Regions from separate parts of the Homo sapiens genome. Here all the other regions are linked to region 4. Evidence: promoter capture Hi-C in 16 types of primary human blood cells and fetal thymus (Javierre and others, 2016). All regions are on one chromosome and are shown on one strand. The core of a region is centred on a gene start or on the middle of the fragment in contact, and the rest is flanking DNA. Distances in the headings are between cores, read along the strand shown. Region 1 overlaps MYRIP (myosin VIIA and Rab interacting protein). Region 2 overlaps MYRIP (myosin VIIA and Rab interacting protein). Region 3 overlaps MYRIP (myosin VIIA and Rab interacting protein). Region 4 holds the start of MOBP (myelin associated oligodendrocyte basic protein).

Evidence for each region. The method cuts DNA at HindIII sites, captures the fragments that hold promoters and counts their contacts. A CHiCAGO score of 5 or more calls a contact.
Region 1: a contact is called between a fragment that was not itself captured here and the fragment with the promoter of MOBP in region 4, in 1 of 17 cell types (M1 macrophages). The highest score is 5.0, in M1 macrophages.
Region 2: a fragment that was not itself captured here is called in contact with the fragment with the promoter of MOBP in region 4 in 2 of 17 cell types (endothelial precursors and megakaryocytes); the score reaches 6.2 in endothelial precursors.
Region 3: a fragment that was not itself captured here is called in contact with the fragment with the promoter of MOBP in region 4 in 1 of 17 cell types (M1 macrophages); the score reaches 5.9 in M1 macrophages.

The regions. Positions count from the first base shown.
Region 1 is chr3:39,987,264-39,992,962 of GRCh38, reverse strand. All of the region lies in intron 2 of MYRIP (myosin VIIA and Rab interacting protein), which reads right to left. Among named protein-coding and RNA genes, the nearest start is that of MYRIP, 180 kb to the right of the region's middle. The HindIII fragment of the contact is 2,876 bases long and covers 2,316-5,191 here.
Region 2 is chr3:40,178,536-40,184,503 of GRCh38, reverse strand. It overlaps MYRIP (myosin VIIA and Rab interacting protein), which reads right to left. Exons shown (of 17, transcript NM_015460.4): 9 at 2,131-2,284. All of the region lies in intron 2 of EIF1B-AS1 (EIF1B antisense RNA 1), which reads left to right. Among named protein-coding and RNA genes, the nearest start is that of EIF1B-AS1, 130 kb to the left of the region's middle. The HindIII fragment of the contact is 4,261 bases long and covers 679-4,939 here.
Region 3 is chr3:40,005,072-40,011,269 of GRCh38, reverse strand. The region is part of intron 2 of MYRIP (myosin VIIA and Rab interacting protein); the gene reads right to left. Among named protein-coding and RNA genes, the nearest start is that of MYRIP, 200 kb to the right of the region's middle. The HindIII fragment of the contact is 604 bases long and covers 2,308-2,911 here.
Region 4 is chr3:39,463,441-39,469,504 of GRCh38, reverse strand. It overlaps MOBP (myelin associated oligodendrocyte basic protein), which reads right to left and starts at 1,825. Exons shown (of 4, transcript NM_001393704.1): 1 at 1,765-1,825. RefSeq lists an enhancer at 1,525-2,207. The HindIII fragment of the contact is 9,372 bases long and covers 1-2,884 here.

The sequences.
Region 1 (5,699 bases), core at 2,504-5,003, 520 kb before region 4:
AGTCCAAGATAAGTAAGAAAGAAGACAGAACAAGAAGGGGTCCCTGACAATGAAAAAGTGAAAGTTTCTAGATTACAGGGATGAAGGATTATTGGAATGGAGCCACAAGAAGATGAGAAGTGGAGGTCAGAGACTAGAGTGCCTAAGGTCAAGAATTTGGAGGCTGGGCATTATTAAGGATGACAAAGACTAGAAAAGGACCATAAACAAGAAGATTTGTAGGAGGCAGAAAGTTGAGAGACTAGGATGTTGGATAGGTCACTGAAGGGATGCTGTGTCACCAAAGTGGAAATTCACAGGACTAGTGGGCAAAACCACATCAGTGGTCTAGGTAATAAAGTGTTCTGTGAATGAGAGGGACTGGCTACAAGGCTGAAAGATGGCTAGAACAAGGATCATGGTCGGTAGTACATTCAGATGGCAAGCACTTTAAAGGACCTGGAGTTCTGGTCTGGAATAAGTCCAGAGTTAAATTGGAAAGAGAATAAAGAGCCACTATTTGAAAAAGCTGCAAGGTAGCTGTGCCCTTGGGGGAGAGGCAGACTTTGGAGCAAAACAATGATGGTCATTTTCAGAGAAGAGCTGGAGACAGGAAGCACCTGCTAATGATGACAGTGAGCTCCAGAGGGCAGAGTTTGGGGGCTCAAGGTGGTGGAAGCAGAGTCAGAAGAATAGAAGCTAAACTACATTGCATGGGGAAAGAGTCCGGGGATGAAAGAAACTTGGCTTTATGGAGATGAGAGGCTTGATAAATGGGTCCTGGAGGCACTGTAGGGGATAGCAGATTAGGAGTTCTAATGACAAACTCCTACTTGTGACCAATTTCTTGGGTTAATTGTGATGTCAATACTTGGTGGCACGCAATGTTAAGGCAGCAGTGGTCTGGTCTTTCATGGAGCAGAGAAAATTTGTTCAATCTCTCCTCAACCTTCAGAGAGTTGCACTTCTACACTGGAGGAAGTGGTTTTTCCACTGAGTGACAAGCTTATTTTGGAAGGTTATTTAATCTAATATATACTTATAGAGCCCTTAGTGTGCACTATGCACTATTCTAGGAACACAGGCTATATCAGTGAAGAAATGAGACAAAGATCCTTGCTCCAGGGGCACTTGAATTCATTACACTACATAATGAATAAAGTTATACAGCACAGTAGAAAGTGATAAGGGCTACAGAAAAAAGAAGCTATAGAGCAGGATAAGGGGACACCTGGAGTGCTGCTATGTTGGGGAACTGAAATATTGAATAGGGTGGTCAGAGTGAGAAGGTGACATTTGAGCAAATACTTGAAGGTGGTACAGGAAAGAGTATAGCAGGAAGAGGGAACACCTGTGCAAAGGTTATGGAGAGAGAAGCTTGCCTGTTGCGTTAAGATAAACAATAAGAGGACAGGGTGGCTACAGCAAAATGAGCAAAGGGAAAAGTCGTAGGAAGGTAGTAAAATAATTAGAAATGATTGTAATTAAGTAAATGGCAACTATTCCTAGAGAAAGAATCTATGTCCAAATGGACATCAGCACATCACACAAAAACACTTCTGAGTTGGAAGTCACAGCCAAGGCAGGATTAGAATTCAGTTCTCATTTTACCTCTATGAATTCTGAATTTTTCTCTGGAAATGAGAAGTTGGAGTAGAGATCTCTCTACATTTCCATCTGGTTTTAAGCCTCAAGCCTCAAGGGAATAGGAACAGATGCTCTGATGACAACAGGTTGCAGTGTTTTGTCTCTGGAGGACACTAGAAGCTTATCGAGGCAGACACTTAGACCAATTTTCCTTTTTTGACTAAACAAGTATTTTATTTATTTATTTTATTATACTTTAAGTTCTGGGTTACACATACAGAATGTGCAGTTTTGTTACATAGGTATACATGTGCCCTGGTGGTTTGTTGCACCCATCAACCTGTCACTTACATTAGGTATTTCTCCTAATGTTATCCCTCCCGTAGCCCCACACTCCCCGACAGGCCCCAGTGTGTGATGTTCCCCTTCCTGTGTCCATGTGTTCTTCGTTCAACTCCCACTTATGAGTGAGAACATGCAGTGTTTGGTTTTCTGATCTTGTGACAGTTTGCTGAGAATGATGGTTTCCAGCTTCATCCATGTTCCTGCAAAGGACATGTTTTCATACAGTTTGCCATGTGCCTGCAAAAACTACCTATTATCCTCAATGAACATGCATTCAGAGTCCACTAGAGGGCAGCCCTGCACTTAGAAACTGAAAAATGTTTACTTGGCAAAGGGAATGTATCCTCTCTTGGGCCACGATGACCAGAACAATCAGAATGAATAACAAGACACTGTGAAAAGCTTTCAATAGGATTTCAGTTTTTCAACACTTCTTTAGTCATGGGCTGTGGCCTAATGTAACAACAATTAGTATCAGCCCTTGAATGTCTGATTTTTAAACTTTTCCAGATACCTAATAGACATTATTTCACTCAAGCCTCAAAATAATTCTATGAGCAGTGAGCTATCTTTATTGTTCAGATAAGAAAACACAGACTCAAAGAGCAGAACAGGGGTGGGGTCAAGATGGCTGACTAGAAGCAGTGGCAATCAGAGGCTCCCCTTGAAAAGAACCATAACAGCATGCGAATCCTGCACCAGCAACTGAGGTATCCAGATTCCAACATCGGAAATGACTAGGTGGCTGCTGTGATCCACAGAGAAGAAGGAAGAGTAGTGTGGTGTGGTGGCTACACAGGGCAGAGGAGTCCACTCCCCCCAGCCAAGGGAGTCAGTGAATGAGCATACTACCCAGCCTGGAAAATGTCCTTTTTCCATGGAACTGTGCAACCCATGGTTTGGAAGATCCAACTCATGAGTCCATTCCACTGGGGTCTAGGGTCCCAACAATGAAGCCATACAGATTCTCAACAGGCACTAAGCTAGAATCTGCTTAAGGCTGCTGAGCTCCTGGGGGAGGGTGATCAGCACCACAGCTGCAGTTGCCTGCTGTCTAAGCCGTTTGGACTCCTTGGGGGACGGGTGACAGCCAACACTGGGACTGATAGCTGCCTAACAAACTAAGCTCTAAGGGCAGGTGAAGGGCAGCAGCCATCTCTATAGCTCCAGGCCAGGCTTTTCCCCTGCTGGAGCTGGGGAGGCTGGACAGCTTGGTCCCAAGAGGTATCCCCCACAGTCCAACACAATGGCTGTGGCAGATTGCGGACAGAGTGCCTCTTCAGGCCTGACCTTGACCCATCAAGGCAGGGCCTCCCTACAGGAACTCCAACAACTTCAGCCAGGGACTCAAGGACAGAACTCTGATCTCCCTGGGCCTGAGCCCTAGCGGGAGGGGTGGCTGCAGTCTCTGCAGACCAGTAGACTTATTCTTTCCTCCTGCTAGTTCTGAAGAATTCAGGCAGCCCAGATGTGTGGGTTTCCCCCCAGTGAAGCACGCCCAATCCACCAAGGGACAAAGTGCTTTGTTAAATGCGTTCTGCTCCCCTTGCCACCTAACTAGGTGAGATCTTCCAACAGGGGTTGTCAGACATGCTATACAAGAGCGTTCCTACTGGCATCAGTTAGGTCAGAGATCCCAGAGGAAGGAGCAGGCACCCATCTTTGCTGTTTTCCAGGCTCCTTGTGTGACATCTCCAGGCATGGGAATGAACCAGATGAATAGGGCCTGAAGCGAACCCCCAGCAAACCACAGCAGCCCTACAGAAGAGGGACCTGATAACTGCAAGAAAAACAAACAGAAAGCAACAACAATGCAACAACAACAATAGCATCAACAATAAAAAGTCCCCACAAAATCCCCACCCAAAGGTCAGCAGCCACAAAGATCAATATTAGACAAACTCATGAAGATGAGAAAGAATCAACGAAAAAAACGCTGAAAATCTAAAAGGCCAGAGTGCCTCTTCTCCTCCAAATGATCACAATGCCTCTCCAGCAAGGATGCAGAACTGGATGGAAGATGAGATGGACAAATTGACAGAAATAGGCTTCAGAAGGGGGGTAATAACAAACTCCGCTGAGCTAACCGAGCATGTTCTAACCCAATGCAAAGAAGCCAAAACCCTTGATAGAGGGCTACAGGAGCTGCTAAATAGAATAACCAGTTTAGACAGGAACATAAATGACCTGATAGAGCTGAAAAACACAGCACAAGAACTTCATGACGCATACACAAGTATCAATAGCCAAATCAACCAAGCAGAAGAAAGGATATCAGCATTTGAAGACCATCTTGCTGAAATAAGGCATGCAGACAAGATTAGAGAAAAAAGAAATGAAAAGGAATGAGCAAAACCTCCGAGAAATATGGGACTATGCAAAAAGACCAAACCTACAATTGATTGGAGTACCTGAAAGAGACAGAGAGAATGGAACCGAGCTGGAAAACACACTTGAGAATATTATCCAGGAGAACTTCCCCAACCTAGCAAGACAGGGCAACATTCAAATTCAGGAAATACAGAGAACACCACTAAGATATTCCATGAGAAGACCAACCCCAAATAATCATCAGATTCTCCAAGGTCAAAATGAAGGAAAAAGTGGTAAGCGTAGCCAGAGAGAAAGACCAGGTCACCTACAAAGGGAAGCCCATCAAACTATCAGCAGACCTCTCAACAGAAACACCACAAGCCAGAAGAGAGTGGGGGCCAATATTCAACAATCTTTTTTTTTTTATCATTATACTTTAAGTTTTAGGGTACATGTGCACAATGTGCAGGTTAGTTACATATGTATACATGTGCCATGCTGGTGTGCTGCACCCATTAACTCGTCATTTAGCATTAGGTATATCTCCTAATGCTATCCTTTCCCCCTTCCCCCACCCCACAACAGTCCCCAGAGTGTGATGTTCCCCTTCCTGTGTCCATGTGTTCTCATTGTTCAATTCCCACCTATGAGTCAGAATATGCGGTGTTTGGTTTTTTGTTCTTGCAATAGTTTACTGAGAATGATGATTTCCAATTTCATCCATGTCCCTAAAAAGGACATGAACTCATCATCTTTTATGGCCACATAGTATTCCATGGTGTATATGTGCCACATTTTCTTAATCCAGTCTATCATTGTTGGACATTTGGCTTGGTTCCAAGTCTTTGCTATTGTGAATAGTGCCACAATAAACATACGTGTGCATGTGTCTTTATAGCAGCATGATTGAACATTCTTAAAGAAAAAAATTTTCAACCCATAATTTCATATCCAGAAAAACTAAGCTTCATAAGCAAAGGAGAAATAAAGTCCAACATCACTGATCATCAAAGAAATGCAAATCAAAACCATGCCAGTCAGAATGGCAATTATTAACAAGTCAAGAAACAATAGATGCTGGCAAGGCTGTGGATAAATAGGAATGCTTTTACACCGTTGGTGGGAATGTAAATTAGTTCAACCATTGCCAAAGATAGTGTGGCAATTCCTCAAGGATCTAGAACCAGACATACCATTTGACCCAGCAATCTCATTACTGGGTATATAACCAAAGGAATACAAATCATTCTATTATAAAGACACAGGCAAACATGTTTATTGCAGCACTATTTACTATAGCAAAGACATAGAGCCAACCCAAATGCCCATCAATGATAAACTGGATAAAGAAAGTGTGGTACATATACACCATGGAATACTATGAAGCCATAAAAAGGAATGACATCACGTCGTTTGCAGGGACATGGATGAAGCTGAAAGCCATCATCCTCAGCAAACTAACACAGGAAGAGAAA
Region 2 (5,968 bases), core at 1,560-4,059, 710 kb before region 4:
GGCTGTGGGGTCTTGAACAAGTCACTTAACTTCCCTGTCCATCAATGTTCTTATCTGCAAAACAAAATAATGACAGTGTCTGGTAATGCTGTTGGAGGAAAAAATAAAATAGTGCCTACATATGGACTCTGTATTTTTTTTATTATACTTTAAGTGACTCTGTATGTTTTAAAGTGATTTTAGAAAGCTAGATATTGTGTATTGAAGTTCTATTATGTGGTATTCTCATGTACTCTATGGAATCTAACAGTCCATTTTCTGTGTGCATTTGCAATCCATAGAGAAAGAGAGAGAAGTGAGAAAATGAGGAAGAAGAGAGAGAGCGAGAATATGAATGAATGAATATGAATAGACTGGGAGGGCAGAGGGAGGAAAGAAAGGCATATCTAGAAAAGAAAAATGCACTTAAAAAGCAAAAGCAAACACCATATACATAAGTAAAGAAACGATCACATGCTGCAGAATTTCTGCAATGTCATGGCACTGCAGTTTCTACTAATAGGTACTAAAAGGTTAATATAAAAATAATCTCTTTTGGTAAATCTTTAGAATGACAGTTAAAAATATTTAATGTTTTCTGATTCTTTGCACTGTCGTAACAATGGATTTTGTTTCTATAGTTGTTGGTTAAATCTTTTCCCTTTTAGAGTAGAAATAATAGCACAATCTTTAAAAGCTTATTACTAGGATGGCTATGCTGCTGTTAATCTTTTTTGTTGTTTTCATTATTCAGGAAAGGGGTCTAAATCTGATACGACATGGGATGAGAATACTGTTAATGCTTTCTTCATGTGAAGACAAATATGCCTGGCCTCCTGACACAGTGTGTGTATGCAGGAAATAGGAAGAGAGGAGTAGACCTGTGCAGGGGTTGGGGGAAGTTTTAGTCTGACATTCATGTAGACCAGGAGGCCCCCTGAGCACAGGGGCTTCATGGCCCTCGGCCGTCACCCACAGTGATGGGTCCAAGCAACTTACAGTCTTCTGATGTGAGACTTTAGGAAAATGACTCAGTTCATTTGAGCCCCTTCATTTTGAGGGATTACGTGACTCAACAGCTTTATAAAGGACCACATTCCATACATGTTGAAGAGTCTCTAAAGAGGCAAGCTGACTTGCCCCATGTAGAGGCAGGACATTCTAGGGGGAGGAATCAGGAAGAGCAGAGGTGCAAGCAAACATCAATGCCTTCCTCAGGATGTCCCTCAGGCAGGGATAGACAACTGCCCACCAAAGACTCTTTCATGGCCCAGCCGTGTTACTGGTATGCATCTGCCCAGCCAGGATGCCATTTCTCCGGGCCTGCATTGAGGTGGGGCCACGTGACCAGTTCCTGTCCACAGGTTGGGAGTGAAAGTGGCGTGAGCTCTCCGTGCTGAGATAGTTAAGAAGCAGGTACCTGCCTTTTCCATGCTGCCTTCCTCCATCTGCTGTCTGAATATGGATAAGCCCATAAAAGACTCAGAGGCCCTGGAGGATGATAGAGCCACAAGGTGGGAACCTTGTACTTTGGCCTCTGAAGGCTTCCCACAGGCCAGGGGTACTTGTACTGCACTGTTGTGTGATGAAAAAGAAAATGATTGTATTAAGCCGCTTAGATATTCAGTTTACTTGTTATAGTGGCATATGCTACCCTAACTAATTTATCCAGTTTCAGAAAGGACATCCTTAAAACCAGCCCTAAGGACCCAAATTTGCTGGGACCCAAATCCCTTTGAAAGTTGAAATGCCATGAGAGGTTGGTTTAATGCTCCTGGCCCACATAAGACACATTCTCCTAGTCCACATAGAACAGGCAGCTGAAGTGGGGTGTGCAGTGGAGTGATGTGAACACACTTGTCCAGGAGCCCCCAATCTGTCCCACAGGTCTCAGCACAGAGCATAGAATATGATGACACCCTAAGAGCCTTCATTCTGCCAGAGCAGCTAGGAAAACTGCCTGGGTGGAGAACATGACCACATTATATATTGTGTGTTGTGCTGGAGGCCTCATGACTTGGTAGCCCAGAGGGACACACACCAGTTCAGACTTATGGGAAGAAGAGCAGAGTGGCCATGCAATAGCCAAGATGTCTCCAAACCACACTTTTGAAACCCACAGACCAACTAGATACTGCTTAAAACAGTTACTTGTTTCATCCAGCCTGTCCACACTCTTCCAGCTGGGCAGAGCAGACTCTGCTCTCGGGTGTTGGCCTTGGTCCCTTGGCTGCCTCGATGGAGCCTCCACTGGAGGGGTCTTCAGGGCTTCTTCTCCAGTGATTGAGAAGGCAGACTGGGACCTCTGTGGAAAGGAAAGAGGGGAAGGGGTGAGCTCATAAGGTACAGTGCCTGGGAGGTGTGCCTTCACCTTTTGGGGGCAGACATTGTCCAGCATGGAGAAAACATGTTTAATGGTAATGGCTCTTTTCACGTGAGCCTTAAAAGCTGCAAATCAGTATATAAGGCCAGGTAAATGTTTATTCCCTTGCAAGTCAGCCAGGCCTAGTAGAAAGAATGAGATGTAGTGTAATTTTACGGGGCCAGCTCTCATACGGCTCTTTCTTATCCACCACTCTTGCGGCCAATATTTCTCAGGGCCAACTGTGTGTGATGAGTTGCTCTCGGGCATGCAAAGTGGAAAGCATGTTCTCCTCAAAGACCTCCAAACCTGAAGAGATCCCAGAGCAAGGTATGATCCATCCACAGCACAGGACTATTACAACATATTCCCATGTAGCTCCTAAATTAAAGGAAGGAAAACAAACTCTAACCTAAGGATAAGTGGCAGAAATGGAAATTCAAGTGACTGACAGGAACAAACTTGAATTGCATTATAGATATATAATGCATTATATATATATATGTTGTATTGTGAAGCTCAAATGTTGTATAGAGAATTTTATCAAATAGAAAGAGACTAAAGTTTTTCTTTGCCATTTAATGAAGGAATTATATTTTACTGGTTGTTTATTTTGCTGTTTTTACATTGGTAATCTTAAGAAGGAAAGGGTATATTCACAAAGCCACTGAAAGCATCTATGATTACAGTATTAAACAAAGTACTGATCCAAAACTCAGACCCCCTTTGCAGTGGGCTTCCACCTGCTGGTTGATGTCAGCACCAGCAGCCCCTACTCCCTTCTGTCCCAGTGCAAAGTGTGCTCATTTCCTCACCTTTCTCTCTCCCACAGGTACCTAGCCTAGGAGACAAAGGCAAGCTCTTTCAGAGAAGAGCTGTGGGCAGGGCCATGGGGTGCTTTGGAGCTGGACCCAGGAGTCAGCCGTGCCTGGGCTCCGTGACCACCTCGGCTACACTACCTTGGCCAAGTGACTTAATTCCTTGAGAGTCGTGGAAACTTAATCTTGCCCTGCACTCACAGTAAACTGTATGATAATGGTAGCTTAAAAAAAAAAGGTATGAGAGAATAACAAAGAAAGAAAGACAGCAAAAATGAGCACAGGATACTTGGGTGACAACACTGAGCTTTAAGATTAGAGGTTGGAAGAGGAAGATGCACTCAATGGCCTTGCCTCCTAAGGACTCTGGACCAGTCTGAGGAAAGACACAGAGATAGATGAGGATCAAAACCCAGCATCCCCATCATCACAGGCCAGGCTAGGGCCCAGGACCCCTCACATACAGGGCGTCTGGTTCACTCTGTTGGAGAGTGGTAATGCAGGCCAGTTCAGATTCAGAGTCGTAGGAAACCTCTACTTTCCCCACGAAACCTTGGGGTGATCTAGGAGAAAGGTGGGCTTACAGAACAAATATGGAACCCCCTAAGCTGTGAACCAAGTGTTACAACCTGCTCCTATCCCTTCAAATATAGAAGAGAGAGCATGATGGGCCTCCAGACCTGCCTTTCGATGCAATGGTCATAGGTTAACGCAACCCAGAGGTGATGAGCTCTCCTTGCCTTATCAGTTCCTCAAGACACTGTGCGTCGATAAGGTTCAGTTCAAGCAGGCCATGGCCTGTGGGAAATCTACCAATTGCCCCCTTCCCCAACTGGGCTGGTGGTCATGGGCTTCTTCTGTACTTATGTTTTACTGCACTCTTGCAAACATCTCTCTTCTGGCCTGGGGCCCCCACTAGACTGTGGAGCAACTGAGGGTAATGTTCTTTTAGCAGTGACATCTGTAGCCCCTGGCACAGTAACTAGTACAGAATTGGAAATCAATGAATGTTTGCTATCGAGTGAATGGTTACAAAATGAGTTTTTCAAAGTGCCTAATTTTTTTTTTCCAATTTCTTACACAAAATTATGGAGTAAGAGAAAGAAATAAAAAGGATCCCACTGTCATCTACACTTACATCCTGGAGAGCAAGGTTTTACTTGGAGGAGAGCCAAGCTAACACACATGTAAAGTGGCTTTTGGCTGAGTGTCATCTCCTTCATTCTGAGGGCACAGCAAGCACTGACCCTGTCTCGAGTGTCCAGAGCAGTTTGGATGATGCAGCTTGACAACACCCGAGGTTTTCACAGGGCTAGGTATTCAGAGCCATTCTGCGATTCTGCTAAATATCTGACAGAAAATGAGCAGCTTTCAGAGAGGATAGAGATTGAGGATGGTGGTCAACTGGCAAGTGAAGTTATTAAAAATGAAGGAAAACATCATTCTATGGCAAACCTCCATGTATCAAGAGGGACACGCCCTTGGCCCTGGTGTACCTTGGGATTGGCTAGGTTGCTCCTCCTGTGTGATCACACAGCTCTGTCCACACTGTTATCGTTGTGCACTGACTTGCTGTGTCTTCCACACACAATGAACTCCATGAGGGCAGGGATGGCCTTTTGTTTGTGATCCTTGGTTGCATGTTTGTGACTGAATTTATAGGCTGTAAGACACAGTGCTGGCCCTTATGAAGCTGACAGCCTAGTTGCCAGATGCAGTATTATTGCAGCCTCACAGAAGCCATTTACTGTATCTGGCCTTTAAAAAAAATCTACAAGCTTCTCACTGTAAATCACTGAATACAAGTTTAAAAAGGGGAAACAATACTTAATATTTCATTTTTGCAGTGGCTCAGACTTGTGTGTATATGTGGTGGCTGGGGTCCTTTTTTATGGGACGGAAATTCTCCCCCATTCTCTGCAAAAGCCAAGACTAACAAATGAAAAGTCCCTCTCTGGTCCCAACAGCAGAGAGTAGGGAATGCCAGGCTATAAAAATAGTCTATTTCAGGCAAATCAGTGTTCCACACTAGAAAAAAGCTACACCCTGACAACCACAAAAGGCCCAGCAGAGCTGTCTCCAACAGGTCCTAGGACACTGGTGGCCTACAGTCTCCAGCCAGGGTGGAAAAAGACAGTTCTGAGACCCAGGTGTGGTTCTGCCACAAATTCATTACAAGCAACACACGCCCAGCAGAGGGCACCACAACAATGCTTTTACTCACCAGCTAGTTCAGCCAGAGAGGAGTAATTTATTTGTTTATTATACTGGCTTATAACGCTGGCTGAGCCCTCTGTGCCCACTTTTCTTTCCTACGCACAGACTCTGCTTGTCTTACTTATTCTAGGGTACACAGAAGACGCAGGGCTGGTGACTGGAAGAGCTGGTCTGAGTTAGAGTGTTTGAACATCTATGCAAGGGGGCTGCAGGGGGAGTCCATGGATCCAGGAATGTTAGCACATCAGCAATCCCTTGCATTGATGAACTTGAGAATTTGGGCCTTCAGATAGGCCCTTCCTCTTTACTCCTTGGGCATTAACTTATGGGTGATACCTTAGGTAGTGGGTAAATGCCAGCTCCTCCTCTTGCTATGTGGGATCTTGGAAAAACTTAAACTGTTCTAAGCCTCAGTTTCCTCATGTTAAGGGATCAGTATCATGCATAGCGCAGAGAAAGCACTCAATAAATATTAGCCAAATAAGAGCATTTATTAAGTATTACCACTGAGCCGGTGTAACTGTTCTCTCACTCAACTTGATTGAGTGCACATGAGTAAACAGAGTCAGGATTGAATAACTTGCCCAAAGCA
Region 3 (6,198 bases), core at 1,360-3,859, 540 kb before region 4:
TTGCAGCTAGGTGTGGCCATGTGACTAGGTCCTGGCCTATGACATAAAAGTGGCTGTGATGTGTGGGGCATAGGATGCTTAGAGGGAGCTCATTCAGCAAGGAGGGTCACCATTTTGTCATTCTGCCTTTTCTCCCCCATCTTGCCCTCTGTCCATGCTGGTTCGAGCTCTAGTTGCCATCTTGATCTATGATTTGTCTTTGAGAGGCTGTGTAGATCAGAAATGCAGGAACTTGGGTTCTCAATGACATGGGGGAGCCACCCCACTAGTCCTAAACCCACTGCTGATTTTTTTTATGTAAAAGAGAAATGGGTTATTCACATATATGCAGATAAAACTAACTCTGAGACAGAAGAGCAGGGTCAAGGTCAAGTACAGCAAGAATGAGATAAAGTTGGCATCAGGAGGCAGAGAGAGGCAAGATTCAGAGCAAGATGACAGTGAAAGGAAAGCAGGATGGCACAAGAAGTCCAGAACCAGAACCAGGACCAGGCATCCTAAGAGATTTCTGACATCCTTAGGTCCCTTAAATGTGTAGTAGGGGCAGGGGAGGTATGGCAGCTTAGAGCAACCATACTGGCTGAAGAACCAATGCAAAGCATAGTAGAGCATGTAGAAACATTCTAAATGCACCTGGAATGAGGTGGGCCATGAGGTGTGACTAAAACCAACCCTGTTTTAAAGCATCTATCTTTACATGGACTTCTGAAGCCACCAAGCCTCACTGGTTCATGATGGGCTGTCCTGTTCTGCTCTTGGAATCAAGTGGAAGCAAGTAGGTCTATAAAGAACTCTCATTTCACAGGCCTGTAGGGTTTAGAAATGGTTACTGCTACCCGGCACCTCTATGGCTGTCTCCTACTAGAATATCTGGGGTGGCCAGGGCTCCTCTGCTCTTTCTCCTCCCTTCCAGGCACTGGGAGGCACAGGAAGCTCTGCTGTCCCCTCAGCTGCCACTCTCAGAGGCCAGCTTTCCGTGAGTTCCTGGTGACCCTAACTCCTCAAGTCTTGGCAATGCTTTCTCCTTGGCCTTGCTGTCTAGCAAATTCCCAGAAATCTGCTGGCTTTGTGCTTCAGAACAAGCAGTGCTGTTGCATTCCCTCTCGCTGCATTCTTTCTGGCTCCATTCCCTCAGGCACCCTGGATATTCTGCCTGCATATACAGCTCCCACCTTGGCTTGCCCTTGAATGGCTGGCCATCTGCCTAGGACCCTCTCATTCACTGTCCTTTCTTCTGAGTTCCCAGGACAGCATTTTCTCCCTAGGCTCATCATTCCTTAAAGGAGAAAGGAAAATCATCTTTACTGAGAAAATGTTGCATGGAGAGCACAGACTTTGGCAACAGAAAGACCTGGCAAGTTATTTCAACTCGCTGACCTCAGTTGCCATGTCTGCAATATGAGGCCAATAACGCCTACTTTGTAGAATTGCTGGAGGCAGTGGAAATAAAGTATGCATTCACAGAACCTATACATCACAGTCACGGGATAAAATCACTGTTTTATCATTGCATTAGTAATAGCATCAGAGTGACCATTTAATGGAACCACTGGGAAATGAAGCCTCTATCTAACACATAGCATCCCCAGTAAGGTGAGGGGTTTCTGATTCCAGGAGGCAGCCCTGTTTATCCAGAAGACATGTATGCCCTTGAAGCCCATCTCAGATTGCTTTTCAGCAGGGCTGCTCAGGAAGTCCTGAGCCTCCACATTAAAAAGTAGCAGTTGGGGCCAGGCGTGGTGGCTCATACCTGTAATCCCAGCACTTTGGGAGGCCGAGGCCGAGGCGGGCGGATCATGAGGTCAGGAGATCAAGACCATCCTGGCTAACACAGTGAAACCCCGTCTCCACTAAAAATACAAAAAATTAGCCAGGTGTGGTGGCAGGTGCCTGGAGTCCCAGCTACTCGGGAGGCTGAGGTAGGAGAATCGCTTGAACCCGGGAGGCGGAGCTTGCAGGGAGCCGAGATCACACCACTGCACTCCAGCCTGGGTGACAGAGTGAGACTCCGTCTCAAAAAAAAAAAAAAAAAGAAGTAGCAGTTTGTCATCCCTCCACTGTGGTGACCGTGCCTAGGAGAGGGCGCCAGCAATGGCAGGGTCTGGCAGTCTCCACATTTGGCCCATACAGTTCTGTTCTCCCTGCTGCTGTCACAACCCCAACCTTGCTGGAAGTCTCACTCCAGCAGGGAACACTCTGTGTTGCTATTTCTCTTCCTCCCCTGCCCATCCATTTGTCTTGGCTTCTGTGACAGTAAGTCCTGTCACCTCAACCTCAGGCCTGGAGCAAGGGCAGGCAGGAGAAGCTTTGAACAAGGAAATAGGAAGCACACAGGGAGCAGACGGACTCAGTGGTGCACCTGCTGGAAACATCACGCAGTGTCTGCATCCCTAAGGCTACCTAGGTCCTGTCTGGGCACAAGGAAATGAGAAGACAAGAGGCAAATCTGCAGAGAACCTGAAATTCTTTTGACTTCGTGTTCTTTCAGCAATATCACTCTTGGGGGCTGATTGGAATAAGCATATTTTCTGGTTCAGGAACCATCAGGCTTCCTGAGGTCGAGTGGCCATGTGGAGACTGTGATGTAAGGAGTCCTGCAGGGTCTTGCTATAATTACCAATATTGCTGAAGTGCTGTTCTCCCTCGGCTGTGTCTTCCAGTTCATGTACCCCTGTGTCTGAGCTGGCTCTTGATTCTGGAATCACAGAGTGACTGCAATATACTCTCTTCCTTCTACCACACTCTCCTGTTTCCCTGGAGAGGAAACTGAGACAAAGCAGGGACTTACAGCCTGGCTAAGCCAGAGAAATACCCTAAAGTTTAATACAGAAAATACCATTTTGGAAAAAAATGGATAGCATTAGTTTAACAGGCTTCATTTTAAAATATGTTAAACGTCTTTCCTGAAGCTTATATCTAAATTTATCCATTGCTTTAAATTCATACTGAATAAATAAATACATAGCTTATTGAAATTTCTGTCCTTTGCTTGTTTAAATGGATCCTACATAATTTATGTGGTCCTTTATTAAATAAACATATATGGAAATGCTACCTTGTACCATATAATATTCTAAGTGCAGAGAAGTTCAGAGCCAAGAAAAGACAAAACCATGGGAGTCAAGTGCTATGAAGCATGAAGTCTCTACCCCAGGGTCTTCCCCAGAGGAACTGGGAGGGCCACTGAACTCAGCAAAAGACAGCCAGTTGTGTCTGCAAAGGCATTTTTAGATAATCTGTGTGATGGTTAATTTTGTATGTTAATTTGGCTAGGCCACAGTACCCAGATATGTGGGTAGAAAGGTCTGGGTGTTCTTGTCAAGGTGTTTTTCAGACAAGATTAACATTTAAACCTATAGACTTTGATTAAGGCAGATCACCCTGCATAATGTGGATGAGCCTCATCCAATCAAAGGACTTAAGAAAAAGACTGACCTCCCTGAAGAAGAGGGAATTCTGCCAGCAGAACACCTTTGGACTGAAGTGCAACTCTTCCCTAGCTCTCAAGCCTTGTGACCATTCGGCAGATTTTGATATGCCAGTTTTCATAATCATCTAAGCCAACTCCTTAAAATCAGTCAATCTTGCACACACATACACACATCCTAGTGGTTTTGTTTCTCTGGAGAACCCACTGTAGTCTGCTCTGGGCCAGGAGCCACATTAGATACTCGGCACACAATGCCAGCATATGCAAAAGAAGAAACTGAGGTTCATGGAGGTTAAGTCAATCTTGTCTCATCACAATGTCTGTGAGGAATGGAGGGAGTTTGAATCAAGACTGTGCACACTGATGAGGAGAGGACACCTGAGCTAAGGCCAGAAGCATTCACGTATGTTGGCGTTTCTATTCCCTTTCCTCCCATAACTTCCTCATTGGATCGCCTGTTTTAGAAAGGATTCTCCATGTGTGGTTTTTTTTTTTTAACATATATTTAAACTAATGCAAAGTCAGAGGACAGCCTGCTCTGTAGCTCACAGGAGAATGATGATGGCCAAGTCCTAGGACATGAATGGTCCTCTGACAACTGATCAGAATTTTGAAACGGCTTTCTCCATGGCTGGATGCATTAGCCTGTACAGAATTCTGACAAAAATGAGGCTGCCTCTGTCTTCAAGTGACACTGATGACTAAACCAATATAAGTTACTTCTCCAAAGACTAAACCAATATCAGTTATTTCTCCAAGTAAAGACATTTCCCCCCAGCATTTGCTGAGGCCATCACACACATGCAATGATCACTTAGCTGGGCATGGTAGTGAACACCTGTAGTCATAACTGCTCTGGAGGCTGAGGTGGGAGGATTGCCCGAGCCCAGCAGCTCAAGACTATGGTCCCATGATTGTGCCACTGCACCCCAGCCAGGGCAACAGAGCAAGACCCAGCCTCTTAAAAAAAATAAGCCCTCACAACAACATGTCCCATTTAATTTAGCTGCTTAAGGGAACACATCCACAGCAGTTTTCCATTCAGCTCAACAACTTTGTGTCTTAACAGTGGTCAAAGTAAGTGCAAATGCTAGAAGACGAATACTGCAAATACAGAATTTTCTGGAGTAAGTATTAGTCTTTATAATTACAGGGCAGCATAATCAACATTTAACATGAAAACTCCCAGGAAGAGAAGGTGCTCAATCACAGATTCCTGAAGTGAGAATATAGGCATCTGAGGCTCGGTTAATGGTCCCTCCACCACTCATCTGCTCAAGCCAGAAACAGGACGTTTTCTTGATTATGCCCCTGACCTGCCATAGTCCATCCAGGTCTACATATTCTAGCCCCTAAATATAACATATCTGGAATCCATCATTGCTGTCACTCCTCTAATTCAACACTACCTCACTGCCCTGGGGACCACCACAGCAGCCTCCTTTTTTTTTGAGACAGAGTCTTGCTCTGTCACCCAGGCTGGAGTACAGTGGCGCAGTCTCGGCTTACTGCAAGCTCTGCCACAACAGCCTCCTTCTAAGCTGGGTACTAAACTTCCCTCTCTCCTTCTATTTTCCTTCTCTAAACTACGGCAAGAAGGACCTTTCCTGAATGAAATTTGATGGGGTCACCCACCTGCTTAGCATGCTTTCACAGACCCTAGTTTTTCTCTGGGTGTAATAGGAACTCACATGGCCTGGATGCCTCCAAGTTCATCTGATTCTTTAACCATATGCACCTTCTTTCTTTTCTTTGAAAATGCCAAATTCTTCTCTTCTTTGAGACCTTCCCTCATGATCCCTCCTCATGGAAGCTCCTTGTACCAATATTAACTCAGCTAAATTCCATTCGGCCACCTCCATTTCTCCATGAAAGGCCTTCCCTTGTCTATCAGGTCAAATTAAATCCCCCTGTGACTCTCAAAGCACCTGAATTTTCTCCTTAATAGACTTTTTGCAATTTCTAATTATATATATGTGTGCATGCATTATATATCTTGCATATTTTATTTAATGTATTTTCCACATTATAGACCCAGTTACAAAGGAGATTTGCAAAGTATTACATGATATTATATATATGGTGTTGCAAAATACATTATAGACAAGATACTCAAAAGACGGGCATGACATGGTTCCAATACAACTGGCATGCTAAAAGGAAGACTGTTATCCATGAGAAGCAACACAGCTAATACTTCTATTATTAAATATTTCCATTTGGTGCCAATGAAATCAAACTGCATTGTTCCAAATCATCTGCCTATGAAATCTATTTTCCATGTTTCAATACTTTCATCTGTATTATTTTGAAAACTATGATTGTTTTGGCTTATTAATTTTGTGCACACACTTTTACCTTGGAACAAGTGACACAAGTATAATGGCCAATAAAGCCAGAGAATGGACCTAATTAATTGTAGAAATAATGCCTGATGGCATATCTATGCCTGAGACATATACATGGGTTATTTCATACATTTAACAAATACTGACTTAGAACTGACTTTCTCACAGCACTCTGCCAGGTACTATGAGTTACAGGAGTGAGTTAGTAAGACAGGAGCCTATGATATGCAGGAGCAGGTGAACACAAGACACACAAAGTGTGGAAATTAGGCAATAGCAAAGAATAGCAATCAATCTAGGTGCCCATCAGTGGTGGATTGGATAAAGTAAGTAAATGTGGTACATAAACACCACAGAATACTATTCAGCCATAAAAAAGGAATTAAATCACTTCCTTTGCAGCAACCTGGATGCAGCTGG
Region 4 (6,064 bases), core at 576-3,075:
TTGATGAAATCTAGATATCTCTAGATTTAAAAACAGTATTTTCTCAATAGTAATTTTCTAATTTTAATTAATTCCAATTAAAATAAATTTTAATTAATTCCAATTAAAATAAATTTTAATTAATTCCAATTAAAATAAATTTTAGTTAATTCCAATTAAAATAAATTTTAATTAAAATTAATTAGATATAAATATGTGTATATATACATATACACACATATGTATATATATCTATACATATACACACACATATATGTATATATACACACACATATGTATATATGTATATACACACACATGTATATATGTATATACACACACACACATGTATATATGTATACACACACACATATGTATATATGTATATACACACACATATGTATATATGTATATATACACACACATATGTATATATGTATATACACACACACATATGTATATATGTATATACACACACATATGTATATATGTATATATATACACACATATGTATATATGTATATATACACACACATATGTATATATGTATATATACACACACATATGTATATATGTATATATACACACAATGTATATATGTATATATACACACTCATATGTATATATGTATATATACACACACATATGTATATATGTATATATACACACTCATGTATATATGTATATATACACACATATGTAATATGTATACACACACATATGTATATATACACACACATGTATATATGTATATATACACACACATGTATATATGTATATATACACACACATATGTATATATGTATATACACACACATATGTATATATGTATATACACACACATATTTTTATATATACACCCATATGTATGGATACAGAGAGAGAGAAAGAGAATGATAAAGGAAATATGGTAAAACAGGAACATCTGGGTAATTTGGCTGCACCTGAAATTTTCTGTATTGTTTGCAACTTTTCTGAAAATCTGAAACAATTTTTAAAACTCACTCACCAACAAGTTTCCTGTCATTCTAAATACGAAACAGCATATCCGCACACCTGGCAGCAGCCTGCTCTCTGCCTCCCTGATTTATTCACAAAGAATTAAAAAGTCCTTTCCCCGTTTTCCTGCTAGTACTGTAGGCCAAGTTCATTACTCGCCTCCCTGACACATAATATTTTTTCCTTTCTCTGTCATCCATAGAACTGAAAACTCCCTGTTGTTTCTAAGATATTCTGTATCAGACAAAGCATTAGCGCCTTTCCATTTAAGGTTGTTGGTCTACAGGGGGCAGAATTCCGAAAAGATTTGGGCTTTGTTGTTCCATTAAGATCCCCCACACATAAATCCAACTGTATGAGGAAAAAAATTGTTCCTAGATAAGAAGAAAAACTCATTTTTAAATCATGACAAATAATAAAAGAAGAAATAAATTAAAAAAAAAAAAGCAGCAGCAGCAGCAGCATGTACTACCATCCATCTAGCTCCAGGAACATGGGGCTTTGAATCTGAGGAAATCTGAGTAAGGGCTCAGAGCCTCTCTCTGGGCTCAGACGATTTCCAAACATTAGCAGGAACATTCCAGGAGGCCCCCTGCCCACATCAGAATAAACATGGTGTCCTCTGTTCTTGTTTTCTCCATCCTTGTATGTCCTCTCAATCTTGACTATTCTTACAGAAAGTTTTCCCTGGGATATAATGAAATGGCCCATACAAAAAAGTACACTTGTCATTTAAAGATGAAAGTATAAAATGAAGTAAAATAAAAACCAATGGAATCCTCTTACCTTCAAATAGCAGTTGTTGTGTGAAACAGATTCTGCGTCTATACCAGGTCCCTGAGGGTTTGAGCCTACTTCAATGCATGCAGAATATATAGGGAGAGGTTATAGATCTGGGTTTTTCATTACACAAGGTGTTTTTGATGAGTCCTCAGCGAAGATCCACTTAAAAACAAAAGCTACACAAAGACTACAAAAAGGCCACACAAAGTTTAAACAAAAGGCTAAAGAAAGACCAAACAAAAGCCAAAGAAAGTTTAAACAAAGAGCGAAACAAAGATAAAACAAAGGCCAAAGACAAAAACAAAGAGCAAAAGAAAATCTAAACAAAAGCTAAGCTAAGCTATAACCATATCTCACACACACATACACACGCACCCCACATTCACTCTACAGCCCCCCAACATTCACATATTCCAGCCTCCCACCTCCCACATAATCAACACCCCATGTGAAAACTCACCCCTCAAGGTTCATTCCACATAAACTCCAGTTAAGTTCCATGCCAGGTCCAACCACACCACACACCAGCTCACCCTACCAAACCACACACCCTTCCACCAACATGCTATGCCACCACAGCGCCATCCCACCCAGCACCCCATACCTCACTCACACATCACAAGCCATACCCATAAGCCATGAACACAGCTGCAATCACATTGACAAATTCCAGGAGTTTTTATACTCCATGTAGATTAAATACCGATCACACTTCCTTCCCTAAAACACTCATGTATACCCATAGATACACCCCAAAACTAAAATTCACACAAGCATGCCCTTGTACACTTGATTAGCAAGAGTCTAATCCAGTCTAGTTACAACTAACATTGAATTTGGAAGTTTCCATGACAATTACCCTATGCATTCACATTTATGAAAACACGTATAAATCATCTCTTATGTTGAACAGTTTCTGCGAATGATAAATCTCATTCAATTAACATTTTATTGGCTTCAGTCTTAGACACCGGCATTTTCTTATAATTTTCCTAACCTAAAATGTGGGGCCACACCTTTCTGTGCTCTGTTAAATGCCATGGGTCCTGTAACTCTGCTTCTGCTATTTATTTTATATATGTAGAACTAGAACTACCCACTAATGATTTGAAAGATGAAAGCTTACTTCTGAAACCAATCCAACCAACAGCAGCCTTGCCTTTTGAATTCCCAGCGCCCCCTCCATGACAGTGTAATATAAATGTCAACATTACCACCAAGTTTCTCTTTAGGCTCTTGTCTCAGTAAAGAATCAGCCAGGGAACCTTGAAAAGGTAATCCAGTGAGACTACAAACATTGACTATAAATCTCTTTGTACACTAACATTTTTGTTTTTGTTTTTGTTTTGAGACGGAATCTGGTTCTGTCCCCCAGGCTGGAGTGCAGTGGCGCTCTCACCTCACTGCAACCTCCACCTCCTGGGTTCAAGCTATTCTTCTGCCTCGGCCTCCCGAGCAGCTGGGACTACAGGCACCCACCATCATGCCTGAATAATTTTTGTATTTTTTAGTAGAGACAGGGTTTCGCCATGTTGCCCAGGCTGGTCTCAAACTCCTGACCACAGGTGATCCGCCTGCCTTGGCTTCCCAAAGTGCTGGGATTACATGCTTGAGCCACCGTGCCTGGCCTCTTCGTATACTAACTTTATAGTTAATTAAACATTCTCTGAGTAATGAGTTATAGACGTATGCTGGTTGATTCACTCCCACTGTGATGCCAGTATTTTGCTTGTGTTGTACTGACTGTGACTGAGGGCTGGGGAGTAGGGTAAGATGGTTTAGAGCTTGAGCTCTGGAGGCACTGACACTAGGATCATCACAGGACCCACCTCAAGGATTTGAGTGAGGACTAAATCAGTTAATATGTGTTCACTGGTGGAAAGAATGCCTGGCACACAGAGTCCTGCACCAATGTCACTCTTATGGCCCTGGCCCTAAAGAAGGTTACCAACAGGGGTGGGTGGCAGTTGTAAGGACTTGTTTTCTATTCACAAAATAACTGGAGACTAATTCAGGCTATTTAAAAAATACAAGATCTAGTAGATATATTATAAAGCTCTATCTTTATTAAAAGACCCTCTGCTTCTCAAATCTTTCCAACAAAAGTTCTTAATGACACATTTTGGGGAAGTCCCATCTTTGATCTTCTACTCCACCATATATAGAGTGATATACAATTTACACAACCAAAGTATGGAGGTTCCACAAAATGCTTGTAATGCCATCTTTTTCTATTTCTACTTAAATGTTAGTGTTTGCCCTTAGTGCGGTGGCACCCTCACTCCCAGAACCACTGGGGAGGCCACGTCTGAGTCAGTGTCACTCTTCTTGAATGGCAGCCTGTGTTCCACACAGAGCAAGACCTCCCAGGACTCACAGTCACAATTAAGAAACTTGCTAACACTACAGAGGATTTTCCCACAGAAACTTTGGCTACAATTGACAATCCCCACATGTTATGAGTTAAAATGTGTCCCATCCCTCATCTCTCAAATTCCTTTGTTGAAGTCCTAACCCTTAGTATCTCAGAATTTGGAATGAGGCCGGGTGCAGTGGCTCACTCCGGTAAGGCCAGCACTTTGGCCAGGAATTTGAGACCAGCCTGGCCAACAGGGCAAAACCCCATCTCTACTAAAAATACAAAGAAATTAGCCAGGTGTGGTGGCATGTGCCTAACATTACAGAGGATTTTAATTCCCAGCTACTCAGGAGGCTGAGAATCGAGAATCGCTTGAACCTGAGAGGCAAAGGTTGCAGTGAGCCAAGATTGCACCACTGCACTCCAGCCTGGGTGACAGAGCAAGACTCTGTCTCAAAAAAAAAAAAAAAAAAAGAATTTGGATTCAAATAAGGATTTGAAGACAGACCACAGAGGTGATCAAGTTATGAAGTCATTAGGGTGGGCTCTGATGCAACATGACTAGTGTCCTTACACAAAGAAGAAATTTGGACAGAAAGACACATTTGGAGGGAGGACAATGTGAAGCCACAGGGAGAAGATGGTCATCCACAAGCCAAGGAAGGAGGCCTGGAACAGATCCTTCATTCACAGCCCTCGGAAGAAACCAGCCCTGCCCATACCTTGACCTCAAACTTCAAGTTTTGAGAACTGTGAGACAATTCATTTCTGTTGTGTACGTCACCCAGTTGGTGGTACTTTACTTCAGCAGCCCTAACAAACTAATACGCCACAGTGACAATAAGTACTATTTCAATTGGTTTCTACATTTATCAAAATAACACTTGTGCAAAGTTATAATAATATTAAAAGGCTTCTGTTGGAAAACAATAGTCCCTTATGCTGCCTCACCAGTCAACATCCCAGCCACCAGAGGCAACCATTTTAAACCTTTTCTTAGCTATCTTTTCTCTATTTATTTCCATATATCTAAATAATTCACACAAATAGCCATTTATATACCTATTTATGGTAGGTTATTGGTTTCCTCTTAAGGGTATAGTTTTCTTACATTCTACTTTTTCCTCTCCCTTTTCCCTTACCTACTGAATGTAGTTAGTATTTATATTATTATAAATATGTAAATATTATTTCCTTCAGAACCTTGTGATTAACTACAATTGTTTCCTTTCTTTGTACAAATTTCTTGTTCCTGGAGTTAATAATCACCCCATTTTTAATTTTATTCATTTATTTTAATCTGCTTAGTTTTAAATTTTACACTACATCCTTTTTTCCAAATATTCCAACAGATCTGTCAACTATCTGTTAATAATTTTTAAGCATTCCAATATACTGAATGATCTTTCACATCTATTGTCTTCTGTAATCCTCTGTCATCTCATTCAGATTTCAGGCTGGTTGCTCTGTAGACCCGGCGCAGCCCTGGCTCTTCCCTTCATTGCTTTGCTGGAAAGAGATCACCTTGTCCTGGATCCCATGCCATCCTCATCTTTGGTTTGCTCCCTCATTTTTCTGAAGCATGCCTTACAATACTTTTCCTAGAAAGAGTATATATTAAGTGAATTTTTCTAAGTGTTTGCGTCCCTGAAAACTCCTTTATTCTGCCCTCACACTTGATTGCCTGTTTGTGTATAGAATTCTAAGTTGAAAAGTATTTTCCCTTAGAAAAACAATGTGGATGATACATTGGTTTTCTGTATCTTCCCCTCCAGTGTTGTTTTTGAGGAGTTCCAGACCTTTCAGATGCCCACTGCTTTTTCTGTGATTTTTTGTAAGCCTCTGGAAATGTTCAAGATCTTATTTTGACCCCAGTTGTTCTGAAACTTCACCATTCAAAGTGAATGTTTCTTCATCCCCACTTGGTGGAGCATTTTCATCTGG